Regions from separate parts of the Homo sapiens genome. Here all the other regions are linked to region 1. Evidence: promoter capture Hi-C in 16 types of primary human blood cells and fetal thymus (Javierre and others, 2016). All regions are on one chromosome and are shown on one strand. The core of a region is centred on a gene start or on the middle of the fragment in contact, and the rest is flanking DNA. Distances in the headings are between cores, read along the strand shown.

The links. The method cuts DNA at HindIII sites, captures the fragments that hold promoters and counts their contacts. A CHiCAGO score of 5 or more calls a contact.
Region 2: a contact is called between a fragment that was not itself captured here and the fragment with the promoter of GNG12-AS1 in region 1, in 1 of 17 cell types (endothelial precursors). The highest score is 8.2, in endothelial precursors.
Region 3: a contact is called between a fragment that was not itself captured here and the fragment with the promoter of GNG12-AS1 in region 1, in 2 of 17 cell types (M0 macrophages and megakaryocytes). The highest score is 5.7, in M0 macrophages.
Region 4: a contact is called between a fragment that was not itself captured here and the fragment with the promoter of GNG12-AS1 in region 1, in 1 of 17 cell types (M0 macrophages). The highest score is 6.3, in M0 macrophages.
Region 5: a contact is called between a fragment that was not itself captured here and the fragment with the promoter of GNG12-AS1 in region 1, in 2 of 17 cell types (endothelial precursors and M2 macrophages). The highest score is 6.5, in endothelial precursors.

Annotation. Positions count from the first base shown.
Region 1 is chr1:67,830,989-67,834,290 of GRCh38, forward strand. GNG12-AS1 (GNG12, DIRAS3 and WLS antisense RNA 1) reads left to right here and starts at 1,300. Exons shown (of 10, transcript NR_040077.1): 1 at 1,300-1,448. GNG12 (G protein subunit gamma 12) reads right to left here and starts at 2,479. Exons shown (of 4, transcript NM_018841.6): 1 at 2,356-2,479. The HindIII fragment of the contact is 10,966 bases long and covers 184-3,302 here.
Region 2 is chr1:68,344,417-68,347,905 of GRCh38, forward strand. No RefSeq gene overlaps it. Among named protein-coding and RNA genes, the nearest start is that of RPE65, 100 kb to the right of the region's middle. The HindIII fragment of the contact is 5,529 bases long and covers 1-3,489 here.
Region 3 is chr1:68,364,705-68,367,898 of GRCh38, forward strand. No RefSeq gene overlaps it. Among named protein-coding and RNA genes, the nearest start is that of RPE65, 84 kb to the right of the region's middle. The HindIII fragment of the contact is 153 bases long and covers 1,697-1,849 here.
Region 4 is chr1:68,416,702-68,420,128 of GRCh38, forward strand. It overlaps LOC124904198 (a long non-coding RNA gene), which reads left to right and starts at 3,350. Exons shown (of 2, transcript XR_007066164.1): 1 at 3,350-3,420. The HindIII fragment of the contact is 1,329 bases long and covers 1,101-2,429 here.
Region 5 is chr1:68,380,940-68,384,398 of GRCh38, forward strand. No RefSeq gene overlaps it. Among named protein-coding and RNA genes, the nearest start is that of RPE65, 67 kb to the right of the region's middle. RefSeq lists an enhancer at 3,121-3,459. The HindIII fragment of the contact is 225 bases long and covers 1,967-2,191 here.

The DNA.
Region 1 (3,302 bases), core at 50-2,549:
CAGATAGAGACCATTATTATCCCCATCTTATAAATCAGACTGAAAAAGGTTAAATAGCTAATATTTTCATCTAAGTCTGTCTGACTCCAAAGCCAACACCCCAAATCACTGTTAAACAAGCTTCTCTTCCAAGTTAGGGCTCAGAAAAATTTACTTGCTTTCACAACTTGCCTTCCTAGGTTAAGCTTAAGCTGACATAAAACTCCAAAACAAAGCAAAACACAATAAATCACATAATTCTAATTTTAAAAAAAACTAATTTGATATTGGCTAACCACTTCCTCAAGTTTTCTGACCATGAAGCCCTTTGCTCTCACACTTTAATAAACCACCGATATTCTCTAACAAGTGACAACACAAATCCACAAATCTAATTGTTAGAGAGCTTTCAAGTAAGACTGGAGCTTTCTGGACAGGAAATTTTTATAATTCTATTTTTTTCAGGCTCTTGTGAAACACAGATTCACATTTTCATATATTTCTACACAAATCTAAGTGCTGTGTGCCCTGTTGGGGGTTCGATATCTAGTAAATTACATGAGTTAAATACAGCAAAAATAGGACTGCATTATTTATAAGGTCTAACGACGCAGTAGACTTTTCAGCATTTTTTGGACTTAAACCAGGGCTTTACGGCGCTGGTTAACTATTAGAGAAGGCAAAGGGACTGAACATTTTATCTGAAAGTCCTTTTATCACTTAAGACTCTGTAAAATTTTTGATTACTTTAAAAATTGTGTGTGTGAATAACGTTAGTTTACTAGAAAAGGGGCTTGCTAGTATATATAATTTGGTTAAAAAAACAAAAACAAAACAAAACAGCTCCTTACTTGAATGTGATTGTTTTGGCAATAGTAAAATTCAATCCCGTCGTTCTAGCGCTGCCTGCCTTCCTGGTTCTCCTAGGTGAGGGCCGCCATCCTGCGATAATTTACTTCGAGAGCTGCGAAGCGCTGGCAAGGGTGCAGTCTGGTGACTAGCACTTTTAAAAACAAAGCCAAACTCCGCTTTTAAAATAGAGAAGGCACAGACGCAGACCCTGCCTCTGACGACATCCAAAAGATTCATTATACACAGCCTATTCAGGCGAAGCTACAACCGCCCCAGGAAATATAAACTGTGTCGGCAAAGACAGCAGGGGGGAGAGGAAGTAACTGATGGGAAGGAAGCTAATCATGTGAAGTTTGTCCAACTCCACACGGTCTAATAAATTCCCGTTTGTTTCCGCTGGGAGCAGCCATTAAACGCGCCCTGACACGTGGGCGCAGGAACCTCCCTTCTACCTCTGGTGTTCAGAGATTTCCTTCTCGACCCACTTGTTTGTATACAACCACGCCCGGCAGGATGACCACCAGATGACCGGCCGCAGCAATGCCTCCACTCAGTCCCAGTTGGGCAAAGTTTCACTCCACTGCGGCGACGTGAACAAGAATCACGGCTTCCTTATCGTGAGTTATGAATGATTTAAGCCAAGTTTACAGGACACACAAAGCGAGGGACGAGTGAGTGACGGGAGGTGCTAAGTGACAGCGTTTTAAAGTTAGCTTTAATTGATATGCCCTAATTAAAATGAAAAACAGAATTCACCCTGCCCCACGGGATAACTGTCGGGGCAATAATTAAAAAAAAAAAAATCACCCAAGACTAAGCCTCAACCTCCCCCTTACCACTTGCAAATACAGTCTGCAGAAAAGCAGCCTCGGGTCCCCACTCGGGGGTCCCTCGCGGGGTGCGTCATATGGGCTCTCCCCTCTGCGACCCGCTATTTCCCTGCTAGACCCCCAGCGCCCAGCGGATTCCAAGGCTGCGCTCCCGCCGGCTGGTCCCGGGAGGTAGAAAGTAGGCAGAGGGGCGTGGCGTCCCTGTCGCCCCCACATGCCAGCCCTCCTCCAACGCCTGACACCACCACAAGCCACGGCTGGGAACACTGGGGGCCTCCCAACCCGGCGCGGGGCGCACGGCCGCAGGCTGGCGAGGAGGCAAGCGAGCTCAAGGGGAGACCTTTCCTTCCACCCCCAGCCCTAGCCCCAGCCACAGCCGTGGGGGCGGCTTCCCGCAACCTCGGGCGGCCGCCCGTCGAGGGCGCGCGCGCCGTTTCTGCCTCTGGGTCTCGGTGTCCCTTGGCCCCTTCCTCCCCCTCCCCCCGGTCTCCGGCGCCCAGCGCCCAGACCAGTCCCCGCCCTCCAGCAGGACACTCTTCCCTCCTTCCTTCCTTCCTCCGCTCCCTCCCTCCATCTCGCTTCCCAGCACCCGGGACTCGGAGGCGGCCCCCGAACTCGCTGGCCGACGCCCCGCGCCGCGCCCCGACCCCGCGGGGACCCGACTCACCACCCGCGCCCGCCGCTTGGTACTCACCCGCCTGCCGGTGCGCTGCCCCGCCGTCGCCGCCGGGACTCGGTCTCTAAGGGCTCCTGGAGACGGCTCCGACCTCTCCTCCTCCTCCTCCTCTTGCTCCTCCGGGCGCCGGCTCCGCCTCGCTGGGGTGGGCGGGGCGGCGGCGGCCCCGGGCTCCTTCCTCCGCGCCGGGCCCTGCCTCCCGCCCGGACGCCCTGGCTGTGCTGTCCCGGGCCGGGGAGCCCGCGTTGTGGCCCCGCAGGAGGAGGGGCGAGGCCTGGCCTGTGGAAGCTCGGTGGACGTCTGGTCGTCTTTGGCCATCCCCCTTCCTCTAATTCTCATGGAGGACCTGAAGTTCTAGGACTTGAGGGCCCCCACTCTACGACCCGCCCCCGCGCGGGGCCGCCCTGACTCCTCGCAAGTTTCCTTCGCGTGCGAACGCCTCGCTTGCCCCTGTGCCAGCGGTCCCCAGGGCTGTGAGGATGAGCGCTGCCAAACCCCTACACGAAAGTTTGGTTCTGTTCCAGAAACTATGGAGGAAAACACGCATAGTAACATTTAAAGGGCCCTGGGGCCACGGAGAGAAGTTTCCCAGAAAGTGGAGGTATAACTGCGGATTATAGAATTTGTAGTACATCCACCCACCATGAGCTTCCCGTCCATCTGCCCCGACCCCCTGAAATTTGTTTCCGAATGTCCAGTACCTGGCAGAGTTCTGCCTAATGAATTAATGGGATTTGGTTGGTCTTTTCTGGAAGGGTTCAAGGTCGGGTAAATGGAGGAGCCATTTCCGCTTCCACAGATTTTGTACTATTCCTTTGGCCATTCGACAGACATTACCAAGCACCCGCTGTGTACCAACTGCGATGCTAAAGGTGATGGGAGAGGTACAAAGATGAATCAGACAAGGGGCTTGCCTTCTTGGAGTCCAGAAAGAGTAAAGAAGCTGGATGTTCAGAAAACCACTC
Region 2 (3,489 bases), core at 125-2,624, 510 kb after region 1:
TTAACAGGTATTTGGCAGAAAAATGATTCCATGATTAAATATGCTGGGGAAATATTTAATTAAATTAACGCAGTCTATTATTGTACTTCTCTGGACTTTCAGTTTGCAGATATGCATTGCATTGTGGAAAACAATTCTGAACAGCTGTTGATGTTTTAGGGAACCAGTGTTTTATAAATGGAATTTTGAAAATATTCCACTAAATATTTTGCCCTTACTTAGTTTTTACGTTTTCCTGATGAAAGAGATCTGAATATACTTAAAGGTAGAAAAGAAGGATTCAGAAAAAAGAGTGTGACGATTCAGAAGAAAGGAAATACAGTAATTCTTATAAGGATCAAATCTTATTATGTAAAGGGTTGTTTTTCTAAAAGATAAAATATATGGGAATATGCTTATTAGGAATTTTCTAAAAGCTGCATTTAGAGTATGTTACGTTCCATGTAAGGCAGAAGGGAAAATGAAATATACATATATTTGCCTATATTTACATGAAGAAACAGAATGTATAAATCATAAAACAATAAACCTGGTTATCTACAAGGGATTGTTGGGGGTGGAGATGAATGAGGTAGAGGGAATATAGAAGGATGTGACACTTTTGTGTCTACTTTTTTTGTATTGTTTTGACTTTTGAAAGCACTTAATTTAATTAATTTATTTTAAAATATTTATTTATTTATTTATTTTTGAGACAGAGTCTCACTCTGTTGCCCAGGCTGGAGTTCAGTGGCGCCATCCTGGCTCACTGCAACTTTGGCCTCCTGGGTTTAAGCAATTCTCCTGACTCAGCCTCCTGAGTAGCTGGGATTACAGGCACCCACAACCACACCTGGCTAATTTTTTTATTTTTAGTAGAGACGGGGTTTCACCATGTTGGCCAGGTTGGTCTTGAACTTCCTGACCTCAAGTGATCCACCCACCTTGGCCTCCCAAAGTGCTGGGATTACAGGCGTGAATCACCACACCCGGCCCTGTTTCTAATATTGCAGGAAAAGTTATAAGTATTTCAAAATGAATCAGCTTGAAAAACAAAAATCCTAATTCTTTAAAACAAACAACACTGTTTATTCAGCCAATTATAATATGTCGTTGATTTGGCAAAGGTAAACAAAATTAATTTAGAAAAAAAGAAGAAATCTAATTTCTAAGATGACTAGCAAGTCTGAAGCAATCTATTTTCAACTAGGAAATACAAAAGAAACCTACAACTAGTTGTCTTGTTAAATGAGAAGTGATAATTAATGTTTAGAGTCAAAGCACAAACATCCTCCAACTGCTGTTTTCATGGCATGATATCTTTGGCAAGGCTTTTGCTTCCCTCTTAATTGTGCATTATATATTTGGAGCATTTCTTATTGTATTAAACACCTTTTGGGTGCTTCTCACCTATCTTTGAGGTCTTTGGCCTCTTGTTCCAGCCCCAGCTGTGGAGCAACCTGCTGTGCATGAAGTGGGATCAGTTCCACCGGAGAACAACCTGACATCTCTTTGCCTTATGTCCTCTCTGCATATGTTTCACCTTCTGTTCTGTAGAGACTGAGGTGTGAGACCTCAAGGACATGCTTAGTGTCAATATATGTGCAACTTAATCATATGAGAGGAATTTATATCTTCCTGGGTGAAGACTGAGCCAGTCTGGATGGACTGTTCTATGAAGCAGTTTTTTACATGGCCTGTTGGTGAAAGGCACTGTAAGATCAAGGAATCAGTAGTTTTTAATACCAAGAGATGACCAGCTCAGTAATATGTATTCTTGTATCAGCTCTTACATTTCCCCTGCCTCACTCTCCTTTTCCCTCACTCTTGCTTCCTGGGATTGCATCCTATAATAAAGTAGTAGCACGTAAACTTTGTCTCAGGCACTGCTTTCTGGAGAATCCAGATTAAGACAGTTGTTCAATGATTGTTGAAAGGTATGGGAAAATCAAAGATACTTGTTTTGTGTTTTTATTTTGAGGCTTAGCACCCCCTAGTGGAATTTATTTTTCACTTTCATTCATACCGAGAGCCCCCAAAAGGTTTCTTGTGTACCATTAAGTCTTCTCAGGCAGAAATAGGTCTGGCTAAAACACCAGGAGATAAAGAAGGCTGCATATAGATGCCAGAGTCATTACATATCTCTATTAATACCTGGAGGAGTCCGTAACACAATGAAAAAACTAAGACTAACTCAATCCACATCATGTAATGTGAATGAAATATAAGTAAAAAAAAAAAATCAATTCTGATTGTTTTATAGCAATTCATCTGTTGGACTTTCCAGAGAACCTTCATGAGAAAACAGATTTTCTTGAATGTGTCTGATGTTGCTTTTGCCCCATGCAGTCTGTGTTTTTGTGTCAAGCAGGTTGTTACTGGTAGCCCATAGTCTTGACCTCTGCCAGTGCTCGGAGCTCATTTCAAGTACCCCATCTTTATCAATGAGGATTTCATCTTCTTAAATGTCCACCACATTGAGCCTGTTGTTAATCTCAGAAATTGTGTTCAGCTGTAAGAGATAATTTTATGTTGTTTTTGCTGCCCAATATCCATTTATCCTTTTTGTGGCAATGGTAGCTGATTCTTTGTTGGGATATGTAATCCTCCTCCACTTTCATCCATAAACTTTTTTTTTTCTTTTTCTTTTTTTTTTTTTTTTTTTTTTTTTTTTTTTTTTTTTAGACAGGGTCTCGCTCTGTCACCCAGGCTGGAGTGCAATGGTGTGGTCTCGGCTCACTGCAACCTCCTGCTCTCGGGCTCAAGCACTTCTCCTGCCTCAGCCTCCCGAGTAACTGGGATTACAGGTGCCTGCCACTGCGCCCGGCTAATTTTTGTATATATATATTTTTAGTAGAGACGGGATTTCACCATGTTGGCCAGGCTGGTCTCGAACTCCTGACCTCGTGATCCGCCTGCCTTAACCTCCCAAAGTGCTGGGATTACAGGTGTGAGCCACTGCGCCCAGCCCTCATCCATAAACTTCTTTTTGAAAATGCCTTAAGTTCAGGGTCCGGGGTATAATTAGCATATTTCATCACCACAGTGAATAGTTCAGGATTGAGCATATACCCAAATTGAGACTATAAATGCTGAGGATATTTGGTTTTGCATTTTTTTGTTTGACATTTTGAGAAGAGACTTTCCTCTTTCACTGAACTAGTTCTTGTGATGATGTGAGCCTGCTGCCACCGGAAGCCACCTTGCAAAGTCTGAGAATGCAACCAACATAGAGGAAGTAGAACTGAGAAGTGAAGCCAGCTGGACTTCCTGGGCCAAGTGGGGACTTGGAGAACTTTTAAAAAAATTATTATTATTATACTTTAAGTTCTAGAGTACATGTGCACAATGTGCAGATTTGTTACATATGTATACATGTGCCATGTTGGTGTGCTGCACCTATTAACTCGTCATTTACATTAGGTATATCTCCTAATGCTATCCCTTCCCCCTCCCCCCACCCCACAACAGGCCCCGGTGTGTGATGTTCCCCACCCTGTGTCCAAGTGT
Region 3 (3,194 bases), core at 523-3,022, 530 kb after region 1:
TCTGACTGGCCAGCTATAAATTGGGATTTCTACAACCTCTCTACCTTTGGGTTTGATTAATTTGCTAAAGCTGCTCACAGAACTCAGGGAAGCCCTTTAGTTTTGTTTATGCATTTATTATAAAGGATACATGAAAGGATACAAATGAACAGCCAAAGAAAGAAGGTTTGGAAATGTCCCAAGCCCAGGAGCCTCTGTCCCTGTGGAGGTGGAGGGTGCCACCCTTCCAGCAGGTTAATGTATTCTTGTTCACCAATTTGGAAGCTCCCTGAACTCAGCTCTTCTGGTACTTTATGGAGGCTTCATTATGTAGACATGATTGATTAAATTGTTGGCCACTGGTGATCAACTTAAACTTCAGCCTCTCTCCTTCTCTGGATGTGAGATGGGGTGTGGGGCTGTGAGTCTCAACCCTCTAAGCACACAGTAAGTCCCCTTGGCAACCAACCCTTCATCCTGTAGTTATCTAGGGATTTTCCAAAAATCACCTCATTAACATAGTCTCAGGTGTGGTTGAAAGGGGCTTGTTATAAATAACAGAAATGCTGGTTTCACCTTCATCACTCTGGAGCTACTCTGAAGCTGTTTCTGGGAACTGAAGACAAAAGGCCAAATAGTTTAACAAAAAATATCCTTATCATTCTAGTTACTTAGGAAATTATAAAGGCTATAGGAGCTGTGAGCTAGAAACCATGGACACAGCCAAAAATAAATATTTTATAATATCACAAATACTGTCTATGTTTTTCCATTGATATGTCACTATTTGTTTGAACTCAGGCCTGTTAACTTGCTGTGATGCTAATGGCCTTTTGTTTATAATAGACCTAAAAGATTTTCAAATTATGCAACCCCCATTGCCAAAAGCTTTCGGGTGGCCTTTTAAGCAAAATGAAGAAAAATTGCATATAGGTTCACATTCATTTTCCAATGTAAATTGCCATTTTATTAAAAATGGAGTTTATAGCAGGGAAATCATAATTTAAATTAATGAATCCTCAAATGATACTTGTTATTGCCAATTATTTTTTAATATAATATAAAATTTCTGGGTTCATAAATAGCATTCTTTTTTTATTCAGGAAAAGCCATGCTCAGCAATGTGTTATTCATGACTTAATTATTCTATAGATGCTTCATTCATATGCATGCAGATATATCTGGCAGCACTGCATTTTAATGAAGATGCTGAAAGGCAGCAGGCTATAATTTCTGACAGAGGATTCTGTCATGACTGAACAATAGGAGCTCCTGAAGAGGACTAGGAAATAACACAGCCCAGAAAGAAAATTAAAAACCCATTTAAATATTTTAATTATAATCTTCATTAGGGACATTTTGAAATCCTTGTGCACATCAGAGCTTCCATAGTTTAGAAGCTATTTTTGCTGGAAGAGAATAATTTTTAGGAAGGGGGAAATATTTTCAAGATCTCATGAGTTGAGACACAGCCGCTCCCTAGGGGAGCACAGGACCTGGTTTCTGTGCCCATTCCCTGCCCCTCTTTAGGCTGACTTCTCTTTATTGAAGTCATAATGGGGTTAAAATGACCAATCTGTTCAACCTTGCAAGAGACAAGGAAAGGAGGAAGGGAAAGAGAGCCTTTCACATTTGTGTGTGTGTGTGTGTGCATGAGTGTGTCACATACACACAGAGTGTGAGGTTTAGGATTTTAGCACTGGTTGGCTGCACCTCAAGCTTTCATCCTTGGACCCTCCAGAAAGCTCAGGTTAATGAGAAACAATAAAGACCTGTTTCAACGATAGGGATTGACGCAATTTTATTATGGTTTCTCTTTCTCATCTTCTCAGAGAGGGAGAGATGTCAGAAAAATGATAGAATTGTCAAAAGCTTGTGCAATCAGCTAAATAAAAAAACAGGTAATAATTCCACTTTTTCCGTTACAGAATACAAGCAAAAAGAAACCTACCGCTACATTCAAGTATTTTAGGGTAGGTATGAATATGCAAGTGATGGGGCATCCAGGGCAGTGGGAGGCGTGGCACTTTCTGGAAGGGTGAGGAGAAAGAGGAGCAGCTGTCCAGGCACTGCCCTGGGTTTCCTCCTACTCTGTTGAAGCTGCTCTTGTTATGCTTGCCTGTGTGCCTTGCATCTCCACATCCACTGCACACTTTGCTGTCTTCTTACTCCACCTCTCAGCCACGTTGAACACAGATGGCAACCTCCTCTTTCTTCAAACATGCTGCTCTTGTGACGCTTGTGATGCCATAGACTACTGCTTCTCAGCATTCTTGTGTTTTCCTCCCGTTCTATTTCTTTTTAAAATGTTGACCATTGATAAGTAGAATTTAATTTTTGTGTAGTGTGTAAATTTTTAATCCTTTAGCGTATTGTATACATCTTTAATTAAGAAATTCTTCCTTGGGCCGAGCAAGGTGGCTTACACCTGTAATCCCAGCACTTCAGGAGTCTAAAGACAGCAGATCACTTGAGGTCAGGAGTTCAAGACCAGCCTGCCCAACATGGCGAAACCCCATCTCTACTAAAAATACAAAAATTAGCCGGGTGTAGTGGCTCACACCTGCAGTCCCAGCTACTCAGGAGGCTGAGGCAGGAGAATTGCTTGAACCCAGGAGGTGGAGGTTGAAGTGAACCAAGATCGTGCCACTGCATTCAGCCAGGGCCACAGAGTGAGACTCTGAAAAAAAGAAAAAGAAAAAAGAAAAGAAAGAAAGAAAGAAAGAAAAATTCTTCCTTACTTTAAGCTCATGAAGTTCTTCTAAAATTTCTTGCAAGCATTTAAAGTTTCTAGTTCATTGTCATGTTTTGAGGTAGAGATCTGAAAGTCATGTTGAAACTTAATCCCCAGCATGGCAGTATTAAGAGATGGTGCCTTTAAGAGGTGATTGGGGGCCGGCGTGGTGGCTCATACCTGTAATCCCAGCACTTTAGCAGGAGGAACCAGGCAGATCGCTTGAGCCCAGGAGTTTGAGACCAGCCTTGGCAACATGGTGAAACTCCATCTCTACAAAAAATTAAAAATTAGCCAGGCACGGTGGTCGCACCTTCGTAGTCCCAGCAACTTGGAGGCTGAGGTGGGACGATCACTTGAGCTTGGGAGGTTGAAGCTGCAGTGATTGTGCCACAGCACTCCAGCCTGAGTGCTGTGGATGAAAGAGTGAGACCCTGTCTCAAAAAACAAAATAAATAAAAACAAGTACAAAAACAAACAA
Region 4 (3,427 bases), core at 515-3,014, 590 kb after region 1:
AAATATCCAGAGGAATATAAGTCATTCTACCATAAAGACACAAGAATGTGAGTGTTCACTGCAGCACTATTCACAATAGCAAAGACATGAAATCAACCTAAAAACCCATCAGTGACAGAATGGATACAGAAAATGTGGTACATATACACCATGAAATATTATGCAACCAGAAAGACAATGAGATCATGTATTTTGCAGGAACATGGATGGAGCTGGAAGCCATTATCCTTAGCAAACTAATGCAGAAACAGAAAACCAATATCACTTGTTTCCACTTGTAAGTGGGAGCTAAATGGTGAGAACTCATGTACAGAAAGAAGGGAACAAGAGACACTAGGGCCTACTTGACAGTGAAGGGTGGGAGGAGGGAGAGGAGCAGAAAAAGTAGCTATTGGGTACTAGGATGAGTACCTGGGTGATGAAATAGTCAGTAAAACAAGACCTGTGCCATTAGTTTACCTATATAACAAAGCCTGCACATGTCACATGTACCCCGAACCTAAAATAAAAGTTAAAAAATGGAGAAATTTGGGCACAGAGACAAAAATGCATAGGGAAGATGATGGGATGATTCGCAGGGGAAATGCCATCTAAAGATTGAGAATTGGAAGTATGCTGCCATAAACCAAAGCATGCTGGGGCCACCAGAAAGTAAGAAAGGTAAGAAAGGATTCCTTCATAGGTTTCAGAGGGAACACAGCCCTGCCAACATCTTGATCTGAGACTTCCAGGCTCCAGAACTGTGAGACAATTAATTTTTGTTATTTTAAGCCACACGAATACTTAAGGTATTCGTTATGGCAGTGGTAGGAAACTTATTTATCTATCAATTATTGAGTTGGATTTTTCTGGATCAGCAATTTTCAGGGATTTATTTTTGTGTGTTTGGGGAGGGTTAATGGGGAACCAGGGCTGTATTCCAGCTTCACACCCTAACGACTCTCTTCTGTGCTGCTCCTTTAGGCACAAATTGCTTCCTGCAAATATGGTTCAGCTGTGTGGATCTCTGTGCAGCCCTATCGTTTCAGGTTGTCTTTACCAAATAAATCCAGGAAGACTTAGTCCACCAGCTCTTCTTGCCTCTTGCACCCATTTTTGTAAGCTTTGTACTTGCCATGTAAACCATGGTAATGAAAGTTCATTATTTTTAACCTCAGGATCTCTCTCTACTCTGTTTGCTTTTTGTTTTTTTAAACCTCTTCCCTTATTCCTTCTGTCCTTTCTCAGTTACTTTCGTAGCCCTATGCTTATTTTGAAGTGTTTAGATTATATATGTTATTGCAAATGGAGTATGCAGGGTTTTTGTTATTGTTGTTCTCTTTGTTGCTTTTCTGTCATTTACAGAAAAGCAAGATGCAGATTTCCACAGTCATGTTCTTGAGTGAAGACTCATGAAGAACTTTAAAAAACTTTGCAATGGTTAGGCCAGGCGTGGTGGCTTACGCCTGTAATCCCAGCACTTTGGGAGGCCGAGGCGGGCGGATCATGAGGTCAGGAGATCGAGACCATCCTGGCTAACACTGTGAAACCCCGCCTCTACTGAAAATACAAAAAATTAGCCGGGCGTGGTGGTGGGCGCCTGTAGTGCCAGCTACTCGGGAGGCTGAGGCAGGAGAATGGTGTGAACCCGGGAGGCAGAGCTTGCAGTGAGCCGAGGTCGCGCCACTTCACTCCAGCCTGGGCAACGGAGAGAGACTCCGTCCCAAAAAAAAGACCCAAAGCAAAAAAACCTCTGTAATGGTTAGAACAGAATTAGAGAATGCATAAGACTACGTGGTGACTTTGTATTTTTCTTTTAGCAGATATCTGATTGGAATAGTGGGAAATAATGGTGAGTTAACATACCAGGCCACTTAAAGAGAGCCACTTTGTCAATTTGTGTAGTTACAGAAACATCCCAATCCTGTTTCTCCTGAACACCACCCTACAGTGTCAGCACAGAACAAACCTCTCACAGATATGTCACTTTGGAAGGAGATTTTTAAATGCTGTCAAAAAAGGCTTGAGTCTTGTGAATAAATGGGCTTTCTGTAATTTTTTTGTTGAAAAGTTCAGCAGAATAAGTGCTTCTGATACTTTTTGACCTGGCATCAATGAAATCTTTTAGCAATCACTCCTTCAACGAATATTATATTTCTTGAGTGGGTTTAATGTGCTCAGCTCGTGTCTGAAGTGGGAGTTAAACAATAAGCAAAACAGACATTTCTATTCCCTTTGAAATCACAGTTTAATTTTGTTTGACAGGTTCTTACAGAAAAAGTCCCTGATAGGTTTGTTTTCAAAAGCAGAGCTAATACTTTTATTTCATGTTTCTTTTTATTAACTCCAGCAATAAAATGGTGAAGTCACTTTGTTACTTAGTCTCTGGAAGAATTAAATATGTTCCTATCTAATAGTTTTAAAAAATCCTGATAGCACTGTTATATTAAAGCTTTAGTTTTTTTCCCCTCTGAAAAATGAAGTCCCCACAGGATCCGGAACCAGGATTTAGAACTAGACAGACACAGTTTCAAATCCTGATCTCATCACTGGGAAGTTATCTGGCCTCTCTTGAGCTTTGATTCTCTTGGCTGTAAAATAAAAAAAATAATAAAACCAACCTTTCTAGCTTGGTAGGAAAATTCAGCATGCAAAACCATGTAAAACTCCTAGCATGGCACATAGGAAGAGGTCAGTAAATAGTGTCTATTTCAGATTTTATAATTGTCGTAGTTATTTATGACACTGTACCTTAAGTTAATCATATATTGTATACTCCAGGAATGGCCCCTAAGTGGCCTCCCTTCTACAGTCCTCTATTTTTATAGAGACTTTTTGAAATCATTATCTCTAACCCATACCCTTGTTTATTGCATTCTTCAGTTTTGTTCTTGTTGCTGTTAATGAAGATTTTTTAAATTTAATTTTGTGCTCTTGATTTTCTCTATTTAGTTAGCCTTTGGCCAATCGGTGATACTTAGGATGACTTCCTAGATGAGTAGACCTTGTAGCATAATTCTTTTTCTTTTCTTTTCTTTTTTTTTTTTTGAGACGGAGTTCACTCTGTCACACAGGCTGGAGTGCAGTGGCATGATCTCAGCTTACTGCAGCCTCTCCCTCCCGGTTCAAGTGATTGTCCTGCCTCAGCCTTCTGAGTAGCTGGGACTACAGGTGTGTGCCACCGTGGCTGTCTAATTTTTTTTTTTTTTTGTATTTTTGTAGAGACAGGGTTTTGCCCTGTTGGCCAGGCTGGTCTCAAACTCCTGACCTTGAGTGATCCTCCTGCCTCGGCCTCCCAAAGTGCTAGGATTACAGGCATGAGTCACTGAGCCCGGCTGGATAATTCCTTTTCAATATGTCCTCCTTGCAGGCAGAAGATCTTGCCAGAAGACTGAGAACCCAGGCTTCCAAGATGGCCACAGCTGCACCAAAGATCACAAGGTAATTG
Region 5 (3,459 bases), core at 829-3,328, 550 kb after region 1:
CTCAGCTACTTGGGAGGCTGAGGCAGAAGAATCACTTGAAACTGGAAGGCAGAGGTTGCAGTGAGCCAAGATCGTGCCACTGCACTCCAGCCTGGGCAAAAGAGCAAAACTCCATCTCAAAAAAAAAAAAAAGAATTACTGGGCTTGGTGGCGTGCACGCGCCTGTAGTCTCAGCTACTTAGAGAGCTGAGGTGGGAGGATAACCTAAGTCCAGGAGGTCAAGGCTGCAGTGAGCCATGATAGCACCACTGCACTCCAGCTGGGGTGACAGAGTGACACCCTGTCTCAAAAATAAACAAGTAAAATAAAACTAAAACAACGAGCACTGTATTATCTAATGCAATTTATAAAATAAGCAAAGTTCAGCAATCTTCAATGGAAAAGGTCATAGTATTTGAAAATTAAGAATGTTTTGATGCTGATTTTTATCAAAATGGTACTTCAAGCCATTAATTGGAACAAATTCCAAACTCACAGTTACTTGCATCACCTCACTTTAGAATCAAATCATGAGTCCATTTCAGCTAATAATTTATTTTGATTTTTAGCTTCATGGTCCACTTCAATGGAAAGAGATTTTGTAGCAGTGACTTTGCTTCTCAGACTTTCAGTGAGTCTCATTTTCTTCCTCACAGGCACTATACTCACTGTTAGCATAGCCATAGTTCCCATAGTTGGGAACTCCTGGGTACTCCTATACCCAGACCTGCCCGCCTCATCCTGCCAGAGAAAAGAAGGAAAAGGCAGGCATGTGGGGAGAAGTGGTGAGTGGGTAGGAAATAGGTAGGGGTGACCCAGAGCACATCTTCAGTATCAGTGCCCAGCGGAATACCAATTTCTTCCTAAAAGTGCCATGACATCAGTGAAATATAAATATTATGCCTTTTTCGAATTGCAATGTGTATAACTATTATCCTATGTTTGCCCCACTATTGTATGTTTGGAGTACTGGAAGATCATAACATGTCTCTTTAGTTTTACAGGTCCACAGATAGAGAGGAATTGTGCCTGGGGACTGTTATTATGGGTTACCCTAGAGCCCCATCCTCTCCTGATTTCTACATGATTTACGTGATGGGATTGGGGGCATATGAGCCATTGAGATTTAGATGAGAATTTTTGATTTTGAGTTGATACTCTAATGGGAATTTGGGGAAGACAGTATTCTAAATAGCCCCTTAATCTCTGCCCTCTATTGTCACCCCCTTATTATGTTATGTTACATGAAAAAGTGATTTTACAGATGCTATTAAGGTGACTAATCAGTTGACCTTAAAATAAGATGTCAACCACGTGGGCCTATCCTAATTACATAGAGCCCTTAAAACAAGAGAGTTTTCTCTGGCTTACTGGGGAAGCAAAAGTCAGAGATTCAAAGCCTGAGAGAAATTCAATGTGTCACTGATGGCTTGAAGAAGGAGGAACCTACAAACTGATGAATTTGAGTGACCTCTAGGAGCTGAGATTGATTCCTGGGCAACAGTTGCTAGCAGAGAATGGAGACTTTAGTCCTACAACCACAAGAACTGAATTCTGCCAACAACCTGAATGAGCTCAGGAGAATATTCCTCCCCAGAGTCTCCTGATGAGAACATAGCTCAGCTGACATCTTGATTTTATTCAACCTTTGAGATCCTGAACAGAGGGCCCAGCTACAATATGCTGGATACCTGACCCATGGAAACTATAGCTAATAATCTGTATTATTTACTGTTGTAAGTTTGGGGTAATTTGTTATGCAACAATAGAAAACTAGTGTGTGTGTCTATGTAACACTATGTGTATAATTCTATGCATTTATATTCTTTAAATAGAAGAGATGACATTTTTACAAAATCATATAAAATCGGTCTAGCCAGAGGTTTATAGAACAATCTTGTGAGTCAGTAATAAAATGAAATTTATAGTACAGATAGAATTCCAATTTTTAAAAAGCCCTTAATAAAGAGGGATAGCTCTAGGTTCAAGCTTCTTATTGCTTTATCCTTCTGGGAGAATCTGTGAGAAGGATACCTCATTAGTATATACTGTCAAAGGGTTGAAATCTCAATAAAACAAACAGTTCAACAAGTAATCATTTAGCACCTTATAAGTGCCACTGGACACTAAGGTTAGCACTGGGGGTTGGGTGATTTTTTTTTGTAATTCAGGACTATGAGAAATAAATTTATGTTGTTTATGAGTTGGTATAAGCTTATAAGAGCAAAGGATATTATAAGAGCAAAGGATGCATTCTTAGCATTGGATGCTCATATACCTCATCCAAGGGAGATGAGGTGAGTGTGGCTTCTTGACTTTCTCCTGTTCTTTACAGAACACTGCCCCAGCTGGTGGAGATGGCATTTTGCCTGTCCAGGTTGAGGTCCTTTCAGGTTGCAGGTTGCAGGAGGCCATAAGCAGGAGCTTACCAAGTCTCTTAATACCTCAAATTATGTCACTCCCAACCGCTCGTATAATTACTTTATAAGGCTGCAAAAACTGCCTTTAGTTAAGCTCCATTTCCTTGGTCTAACTAGTGTAGATTTCAGGTACAATTTCTTACTATGCCAGTGGTGCCACCCTTACCACATTGGTCTAGGTTTTAGAATAATGACTAAGCATTTCATATGAGTAGTTATATTAGAATGATGAGGAGTGTAAAATTGTTCAAGATGTAGCAAAGCTTAACATGAAGGCTGGGCTACGGTCCTCAAAACCTAGTTCATAGAGTAGTCCTGGGAATTAAATGATGTAAGGCATTAATTAAATGATATAAGTGCTTAATTCAATGCCTGGCATAAACGAACAACTCAATAAATGTTAGTTGCTATTGTTGTTAATTGCTATGACTTACTTGTTAGTGCCCTTATGGTAACAACTATTATTGCAAAATAATTACAGAAAAGAAGGGCTGATATTGGGAGAAAGAGGAGAGGATCTGGAAGTCCTGAAGAGGCTGAAGAAATAATAGACTGGGAGTAACTGAATGAGAATGTTGGAAGAAAGGTTGCAGTTAGTGAATGGAGTGTTTGAATTTAATATTTAGGAGATAGAATAATTCCAAGTAATGATAGAAGTATAGCAAACTGGGATGGACGTGGAGTATGTGTGATGTGAAATGGGAGATAGGAGAAGAAGGTCATTAACACTAAGGAAGCCAAAGGAGTCTGGAGAATCAGGTAGGGTATCCGTGTGGCTTTGGAACACTCTCAGGATGACAGCACAACTTAGACTACAGGAGGCAATGGAAAACACTAATGTCTTTAATAAAAGAAGGAAGTACCTGAATCCTTGTTGGTAGGATTTCCAAGACTGAGAGTGTCTCTGGATCCTGTCGTTTTAGCAGAACTACTCTGTGCACTATTTATACCCTTGTTGGAGTTCTCTCTACCTTCTAACTTCAGGAAGTGATTTTATTGTGCCAGTTCCCAGAAAGCTGATGGGGCAGTGTATTCATGCCCAAGCTGGCTGTTTGGAATA